3 separate regions of the Homo sapiens genome follow, and regions 1 and 2 are each linked to region 3. The links are contacts of gene promoters, found by promoter capture Hi-C in blood cells and fetal thymus (Javierre and others, 2016). All regions are on one chromosome and are shown on one strand. The core of a region is centred on a gene start or on the middle of the fragment in contact, and the rest is flanking DNA. Distances in the headings are between cores, read along the strand shown. Region 1 holds the start of OLA1 (Obg like ATPase 1). Region 2 overlaps CIRSR (corepressor of RBPJ and splicing regulator). Region 3 holds the start of DLX2 (distal-less homeobox 2).

Evidence for each region. Contacts are between HindIII fragments. The CHiCAGO score rates a contact against its expected background, and 5 or more counts as called.
Region 1: the fragment with the promoter of OLA1 here is called in contact with the fragment with the promoter of DLX2 in region 3 in 1 of 17 cell types (total B cells); the score reaches 7.7 in total B cells.
Region 2: a contact is called between a fragment that was not itself captured here and the fragment with the promoter of DLX2 in region 3, in 1 of 17 cell types (total B cells). The highest score is 7.0, in total B cells.

Annotation. Positions count from the first base shown.
Region 1 is chr2:174,247,129-174,250,034 of GRCh38, reverse strand. It overlaps OLA1 (Obg like ATPase 1), which reads left to right and starts at 1,503. Exons shown (of 11, transcript NM_013341.5): 1 at 1,503-1,583. RefSeq lists a silencer at 1,198-1,717. The HindIII fragment of the contact is 2,463 bases long and covers 1,131-2,906 here.
Region 2 is chr2:174,348,734-174,351,662 of GRCh38, reverse strand. It overlaps CIRSR (corepressor of RBPJ and splicing regulator), which reads left to right. Exons shown (of 10, transcript NM_004882.4): 8 at 1-44; 9 at 918-1,003; 10 at 2,491-2,929. Among named protein-coding and RNA genes, the nearest start is that of SP9, 15 kb to the right of the region's middle. The HindIII fragment of the contact is 2,909 bases long and covers 1-2,766 here.
Region 3 is chr2:172,101,257-172,104,192 of GRCh38, reverse strand. DLX2 (distal-less homeobox 2) reads left to right here and starts at 1,293. Exons shown (of 3, transcript NM_004405.4): 1 at 1,293-2,054; 2 at 2,547-2,731. The coding sequence starts at 1,655. DLX2-DT (DLX2 divergent transcript) reads right to left here and starts at 1,187. Exons shown (of 5, transcript NR_126376.1): 1 at 925-1,187; 2 at 161-255. RefSeq lists a silencer at 1,292-1,491. The HindIII fragment of the contact is 7,057 bases long and covers 1-2,877 here.

The sequences.
Region 1 (2,906 bases), core at 254-2,753, 2.1 Mb before region 3:
GTCTTGCTCTACACCCAGGCTAGAGTGCTGCGGCAGTGATCATAGCTCACTGCAACCTTGAGCTCTCAGGCTCAAGCCATCCTCTCACCTCAGCCTCCTGAGTAGCTGGGACTACAGGTATGTGCCACTACACCCAGCTAATTTTTGTTTTTTGGTAGAGATGGGGTCTCACCACGTTGTCCAGGCTGTTCTCCAACTCCTAGGCTCAACTGATCCCCCTATCTTGGCCTCCCAAAGTGCTGGGATTACGGCCAGATTTTCAGTTAGATTGTGGTTTGAAATATGCTGCTGCCATTTACTAGTTGTGTGACTTCATCCAAATTAATCAACCTTTCTGATATTGTTTCCTCACTTGTAAAATGGGGATGGCGACCTATTTACATCCTTTAATATTAATAGCAACTAATCCCTTTAAAAGGAGCTTCTAGTGTCACAATTTTTGGACAGGTATCATATTCATTACAACAAATACCTGAATGACATCTGAAGGCCAGGACCTAAATGAAAGAATTCCTTCTCCAGTGGCGCTCATGGTATTGATATGATGTGGGTGAGATGGGATGAAATCCTAATATTAACAACAGCGACTACTCACAAGCCTTTTCTGTATGTGCTGAGTACTGTTGTTATGAGCTCAACACGCATTGTCTCATTTTATTCTCACACGAATAACCTCATAAGGTGGTTTTAATAGCCTCATTTTATCCAGAACGAAATTGAAGTCCAGAGAAGTTAATTTGTCTAGGGTCATACAGTCAATGAGTGGCGAAATCCAGATTGGAAATTCCCAAATTTCAAAGGCCCCTGCTCTCAACTACCAAGAGGAAAAGGGGGGAAATTGGCTCAATTAAACGCATTCTGTGATCCAGTACCTGTGTGCGACGCTTTAACTATAAGGCGAGGAAGAAATCCCTAGACCAAAGTTTCCCTTAGCCCCTTTTCCTTCAAGAACTTTTAGTTAACAGCTTCTCTCCGCACAGACTGAGCGAATAAAGTTATAGAAAAGGGAGATGGGCTAGCGGCCACGCGGTCCTCGGGGCTGGTGTGGCTGTTTGCCTGACTTCAGACGCCCCGGATCTCCCGGAGGGAAGTCAGGGCCCAAGGCACTCCGCAGTCCAGCTGGGAAAGCTTGGGGCTGTAGGCCCGCGAGTGAACGTGAGCAGGTAACCCAGGCCGCGCAGCCAGACGGAAGCGGAGACCTAGAACCGAGAAGCCCACGTGCCGAAGCGGAAGACTAGAGCTCCCGGGAACGGCCTAGCCAGCGCCTTCCCCTCTCCAGCTCCCTGCCGCCGCGCGGCTCCTCCCACCCTGGGCTCCTCCCGCCCTACTCCCGCCTCCCCGGCCGGTTAGGCCAATGGGCGGGACGCGCGGGCAAGGCGGGGAGGGGCGGGGCCCATGGTCTGCGCGCAGGTGCCGCTCGGCGCCCGGCCCGCCCGTTCCGCCGCTGTCGCCGCCGTCGTGCGTGCCGCTCGGCGGAGGGGACGGGCCTGCGTTCTCTCCTCCTTCCTCCCCGCCTCCAGCTGCCGGCAGGACCTTTCTCTCGCTGCCGCTGGGACCCCGTGTCATCGCCCAGGCCGAGCACGGTGAGGCCCTCAGGGAGCCCGGGGGCGCGATCTCCGCCAGGTCTTCGGCGCCTGGGCTCATTGCCCTGAGGCTGGCGCGGGGCCCGGGCCCAGTGGCCAAGATGGGGCCAGGGCAGCGGGTGGCTTGGGGATGTGTGGATGAATGAGGCGCTGTCGGACTAGGCCGCGCGTCGGGAGATCGGCCTACGCCTCACGCGGGAAAGCCCTGGGGAAAGCCTTCTCCCGACGCCAGGACGCCCGGTGGCCCAGTCCGGAGAGGAGGATGGGGGGTGGGGCCCACTTTGGGTGGGCTGCCGGCCACCTCTCTGTAGGCCAGAGGACCCGACAGGCGCTGTTCCTGTATCTGTTCTTTGGAGGCCTGGGAGTTGGCCAGGAACAGGTGTCAGGACGCTGAGAAGGGAAATTCCTGGCCCTCGGGGTCAGGGATCAGAGGCTGGAATACTACTGCAAGGGCAGGGCCCCAGCGTGGTCCTAGGAGGTACAACTCTCAGCCAGAAGACTGGGACAGTTTTAGTTCCCAGCTTCTGAGACGTGAGCTTAGCGGTCTTTGTGATTTCACTTTGCAGTCCAAGGGTGGGAGTAATTCTGCACGCATGATTTGGAGACAGAACTAGTAAGGGACAGAGAAAGTTTCGACTTGTAAATAAAAAGGTTCCGTCGATTAATTTACCATTAGAAATAGTAACCATAATGTAGATTTTGGAGGTTGCTTATGAGGACTGATGAGCCGTACCTTCAGTGCCAAAGGTGGGAGGGACTTGGTGGAAGGACCCCAGTACCTGGTGGGTGTTCATCTATGTGAAAAATGGGGGTTGTGGGCGAATGGGAAAGATAAGATTCCAGATTATAGAGGAATGGTTTGGTGTGAAGGGTGACTTGGCTGCTGGTGGTTCCACAATGGAATTTTCTTTGACTGTCTTCTGTGTACTTGCTTCCAAATGCTTTCTTTCATATAACCATATATCAGGTTAAGATATAAAGTGTTTTGTGAGCAGTCTGGATGGAAGATTGGTAGCTAAACTCTAAGTTTATCTTTGATTCCTGGTGCCACAAATATTTTATTTATTTATTTATTTATTTAAGACAGAGCCTAGCTTTGTCGCTCAGGCAGAGCCCAGTGGCGTGATCTTGGCGCACCGCAACCTTCGCCTCCCGAGTTCAAGCAGTTCTCGAGCCTCAGCCTCCCGAGTAGCTGGAATTACAGGCTGCGCGCCTGATGGCCGGCTAATTTTTTTGTATTTGTTTTTCTTTTTAGTAGAGACGGGGTTTCTCCGTGTTGGCCAGGCTGGTCTCGACTCCTGGTCTCAAGCAGTCTGCCCACCT
Region 2 (2,929 bases), core at 63-2,562, 2.2 Mb before region 3:
GAAATGTACTGGGGAGAAACTTGACCGCAAATGATCCATCACAGGTAATGATCTTTTTATCAGTAAGCTGAAAATGTCTATAAATCTAAATGTGATTGCTTGTGAATTGCTACTTAATGTTTTCCAATATGCATATATCCATAGGAAAGTAAGATAGAGCAAAGAAAATGCCCAAAATGTGTTTTGATTTTGCTTTATTATTTTAATCTAAATGAGAAATTGTTTATAAACCTGTATTTTAATAAATGAAACTGCTCCTCTGAGTTTATGTGGATAAAATATCTAACTGAACTGGTGATGAGGTTGTTGGTTTTTCCTTCCTGCTAACTTACCCCTGATATGACATTAAATAGAACCAATGGTTAGAAGTATGTAAAAACTCCTAAAAATTGTAGAAAATATTTTAAACTTATTTATTTTATTAAACTATACATAGATCCAGAAAATGATTGAGTTTGAAGGGCTATATTATTATATATTTGATAATGTGCTGTTGAAATTATAATAAAAGCTAAAATTGTGGATATTTTGACATTCCTGTAAAACTCATAATCTTCTTTTTTATATTTCATTAAATTAAAAATAAAGTATTTAAACTGGCAAGAGTTAACATTCAAGAGATAGAGAATGGAAGTCATGCTCTAAACATTTTATCTGTGTGTGTCTATCATCCTTTTCCTGGAAAAGTTTCCTAATGCTGGCAAAGCAGTCATGTTAACCTCTTAGTGCTGTATGATCCACTTCGGCAGGGAGACTACAAAAAAATTTTTTAATTCTCTCCCACTTCCCAATCCAAAATATCATATTCATCTACAGTGTGTCCCTGATACAAAACTTATTTATAAATGTTTTCTTTTTTATCTACTAACTACCTTGTGTTGAAATCTAGCAATTTAATGATATCTTTGTTGACTCAGGAGTATGTTGCAAGTGAGGGTGAAGAAGATCCAGAAGTTGAATTTTTAAAGTCACTAACAACCAAACAAAAACAGAAACTTCTCAGGTAATTTAGAAGTATATATTTAATAGATTTATTTTTTCCTTAGTATTCATCTCAGTATCGTATTCAACTCTGATCCTAAGAGCTCATGAAGGTCCTTATACCATGCATCACATTTATTGATTATTCTTCACCCATAGCTAATACAATTTTGTCTGTCTTTTCAGTAACATGGAAATGAGTGTAAGATTGTATACTCAGATTGTACCACAAAACGATTGCACTTTTCAGAATGTTTAATTTAGAATTAGACTTATTTATAGCTTTTACTTTTCAAAATAGATTTGTGTGTATCTTCGCACACAATTTGTTCTTAGGAAACATTTTTGGCCATTTTTAAAATGTTTTGTAAAATTTTATGAGAATGCAGAAAGAATGCTTAAATTTAAGGTAAACGTGAATTTTGTTAAACAGACTACCTCTGAATTAAAAGAATCCAAGAAATGTCTGCTGGGTCCAATAGAGGGAGCTCATGATGCTTTCAGTATGTAGAGTTTTGAGAATGGCTAGACAGAACCTAGAGACTTATTTTCAGAGTAACTCAAACATACCATATAAACAAGTTACTCCTCCAAGAATGTGAAGTACTCTAGAAATTCAGAATGTTTTAATAGGATTGTCCTATTTATAAAACTAAACAATTGTTGAAAACAAGTATTAACTATATTATTTTATAAAACCAATATTTCAGAAGTTTAATGTGTACTCTTACTCAGAATTTCTGGAGAATATTCTCTTGAATTTTGATAACGTTGATTAATATTTATATACTATAAAATAGTACATAAAATTAATTTTTCATCTGATTATAGCTATATATTTGCTTTTTTAGTAGTTCCAACTGATGTTACACACCTTTCACAGGCTTTCTTTAGGATGACCCTTTAGAGTGCTATATAATTTCAACTCAGTAAGAATTTAACAAAAAAGTAGTCATTACTATTGAAGTATAGTCAGAAAATTGGCTTGATGCATTTAATTTTTTAATTTAATGTATTCACGCTTTGAATAATTTTAAAGGAAGAAAATGAGTTGTCATTTAGTAAACAATGCGTTCATATATGGATACCAGTTCTTTTTTTTTTTTTTTTTTTTTTTAAGACAGAGTCTCACTCTTTTGCCCAAGCTGGAGTGCAGTGGCATGATTTTGACTCACTGCAACCTCCGCCTCCCGGGTTCAAGCGATTCTTCTGCCTCAGCCTCCTGAGTAGCTGGGATTACAGGCAGGTGCCACCATGCCCAGCTAATTTTTGTATTTTTACTAGAGATGGGGTTTCACCATGTTGGTCAGGCTGGTCTCGAACTCCTGACCTTGTGATCCGCCCGCCGTGGCCTCCCAAAGTGCTGGGATTACAGGTATGAGCCAGCGCGCTCTGCCATGGATACTATTTTTAATAACTTCTAAGAAAATATATTGTTTGTTCATAACTTACAGTTGATGAAATAACTGTTTTTCACACAGTCTGTTACTGTTTATTTCCCAATTACAGGAAATTAGATCGACTGGAGAAGAAAAAAAAGAAAAAAGATAGAAAAAAGAAAAAGTTTCAGAAGAGCAGAAGTAAACACAAAAAACATAAGTCCTCTTCTTCCTCATCTTCCTCCTCCTCCTCCTCTTCCTCTACTGAGACTTCAGAAAGCAGTAGTGAGAGTGAGAGTAACAATAAAGAAAAAAAAATACAAAGGAAGAAAAGAAAGAAAAACAAGTGTTCAGGGCATAACAACAGTGATTCTGAAGAGAAGGACAAGTCTAAGAAGAGAAAGCTTCATGAAGAACTTTCTAGCAGTCACCATAACCGGGAAAAAGCCAAGGAAAAGCCCAGGTTCTTAAAACACGAGAGTTCTAGGGAGGACAGCAAATGGAGCCATTCTGATTCTGACAAAAAGTCCAGAACCCATAAACATAGCCCAGAGAAGAGAGGCTCTGAA
Region 3 (2,936 bases), core at 44-2,543:
ACATGTTATGTCTTTAGGAAAGGGTGCTTCAGATGGTGCGCACTAGCACAATTTTGTGGCTTTTAATTACTATTTTGTTCTTTTGGGGGGTTTCAGAGGCTGGCGCCTGGGCGTGATTAGACCGTCTACCCCGCCCCCCGCAACCTCGCACACTGCCCACCAGGTGGCGCCACAAAGCAAGCGCTGCCGCAGGAACTTCGGACTTGGGAGTCCAGCAAGTCGTGCAGTCCATCACCGTCGGGCCAAGGTTTCCAACTACAAGGTTATAGAGACAGAGGAAGTCACCATTTCCGATTTTTTAAAAAACAGAGGGAAAAGAAAAAAATTGCAATGATAGGGTAGAACAGGGTCCTAAAATGCAAAACTGTAAAACAGGATTAAATTCAACAAACCAGATAAAACTTTTTATATTTGTTGTAAATTTACAGAGAAGTGATAAATCTAGTATCTACTTGATAAATCTATAATCTCACCTATTATCCTATTTCCTTTTTCGCAAGAGCATCGAATTTTCAAGGACAACTGGTGAACCTTTCCACCCGAAGGAGGAAGTCCTCGGGATGGCTTTCAGGGTGTCATTTACTTATCAAACGTATATAATTACTCAGAGTCTCGCGTGTCGGGAAAGTACCAGGGAAAGTGGTTTCAAATATACTATTAGCAATAATACCTTTAAGTTTATGTAGCTTCTCTTTGAAGCAACAAGGAAAACCCGTTTCAATATTATATGATTAATTGTCCTAATATCCCTGCGGATTGGTTAAGAAGCGAGCATTACACGTGGTTTGTGGATAATTAAATCAATTGATTATGTCAAGTGCCGAGTGGCTAACAAGAATAAATGCCAGACACTTCGAGGAAAAGTGAAGATAGAGCTGGCTGGACTCTGGGCACCGATGTACTTTAATGTGTTTGAAAACTGACCTCGGACATGAAAGTACGAATCACTGGAACTGGCACTTGCTCACAGAATGGGAGAGGGGACCCCACTTCTTCCTCTGAGGCAAAACGCCAGTCTGTCTCCACGCCTTCTGTCTTCCTGCTGCGGGCCACCCTGACTCCTCGCTACCTCGACCCCTCGCCTCGCTGCTCACATTCGGCGGCAGTCTGTTTGCACCTGGGGCCGCTGCAGCCGCAGCCGCAGCCACAGCGCCCACCATGTGACGCCCGCCCCTTGGCCGGGCGTTCCCGGAGCTCCGCGGCCGTTTGCTTCTGATTGGCTGTTGCTAGGTGACGTCGCCAGCGCTCACGTGACGAGTGTTAAATGCCCACACTTCAGGAGCCCGCCTGGCAGACAATCGTAAAGCCGCTCGGGGCCGCTCACCTGCTCCCGCCTCCCAGAGCCCCGACCCGGCCCAGCCACCCCTGCCCCCTCCACTGCCCGCCCCCCGCCAGAGCCCGCGCTCGCGCTGGGCAAGGAGCCGAGCGGGCCCAGAGGCCGAAAGAGGATGCGACCAGAGGCAGCTGTCCCGAGCAGCGCACGGTGATCGCCTCCCCCGGAGGAGGAGGCGCCTAGACGGTTGCCTCCTTTCTTGTTTCCCCACCACCACCCCCGTAATTACATTGGCTGCTGGAGGGGACCGGGAGAGACAGAGGAGGCGCCTGGCTTCCCCCGCACGCCCGCCACCTCTGCTCTTTCCCGTCTCGGGCCAGGATGACTGGAGTCTTTGACAGTCTAGTGGCTGATATGCACTCGACCCAGATCGCCGCCTCCAGCACGTACCACCAGCACCAGCAGCCCCCGAGCGGCGGCGGCGCCGGCCCGGGTGGCAACAGCAGCAGCAGCAGCAGCCTCCACAAGCCCCAGGAGTCGCCCACCCTTCCGGTGTCCACCGCCACCGACAGCAGCTACTACACCAACCAGCAGCACCCGGCGGGCGGCGGCGGCGGCGGGGGCTCGCCCTACGCGCACATGGGTTCCTACCAGTACCAAGCCAGCGGCCTCAACAACGTCCCTTACTCCGCCAAGAGCAGCTATGACCTGGGCTACACCGCCGCCTACACCTCCTACGCTCCCTATGGAACCAGTTCGTCCCCAGCCAACAACGAGCCTGGTATGCATAACGCTGAAGTCAAGAGTGCCGAGTCGGTCTAGTTAATGGGATGGATGGGTAAACGTGTTTGGGGCGGGGGGCCTTCGAAAGCTCTGGATTTTCACGCTGCCTGCTCACCGCCCGCTTGTGCCCTTTACCCTCCCCAGCCTCCAATCTGCCGCAGGTCGCCGGTTACGTCCCTCTCTCCTTTGGTAGGACCTGGTGGCCTCAAGAGCCAAGTGGGCGTGCTCTGCCTGCCTCATAAGGGCATCTCCTTGCCACCAGCTTCTTTCTCTTGGGTGTGCACTTGTCTCCCCCTTCCCTGGAGGGTACAGCTCCCGGGGTCGGTGGCGGCTCCGATCGCACGCTGCGAAGTTGCGCCTGCCCGTGGCGCCACAGTTCAGTGCACCCACCTCTTTGCTCAAGCCAAGTCCCCCCCGCCGGGCCCTCTAGGAGGGCGGGAACTCCAGGACCCCTGGGTTGCGCTGTTCTTACGATTCTTTATCGTTGCAGAGAAGGAGGACCTTGAGCCTGAAATTCGGATAGTGAACGGGAAGCCAAAGAAAGTCCGGAAACCCCGCACCATCTACTCCAGTTTCCAGCTGGCGGCTCTTCAGCGGCGTTTCCAAAAGACTCAATACTTGGCCTTGCCGGAGCGAGCCGAGCTGGCGGCCTCTCTGGGCCTCACCCAGACTCAGGTGGGGCTCGCGCCCTGCAGGGGCGAGGAGAGCGCGGGCCTGAGATGGCTGGGAAGCAGGCGGGTTTAGGACAATGCTTTTTAAAGTTCATTTTAAGTACTTTTAAGGATTTCCAGGCCTGCGCCTCGAGCGGCCCTAAGTAAGCTTCTAGGCCCAAAGCTGGAAACCCCCAAGGGGCCGCCGTGGGAGGGAAGGAAAGGGACCG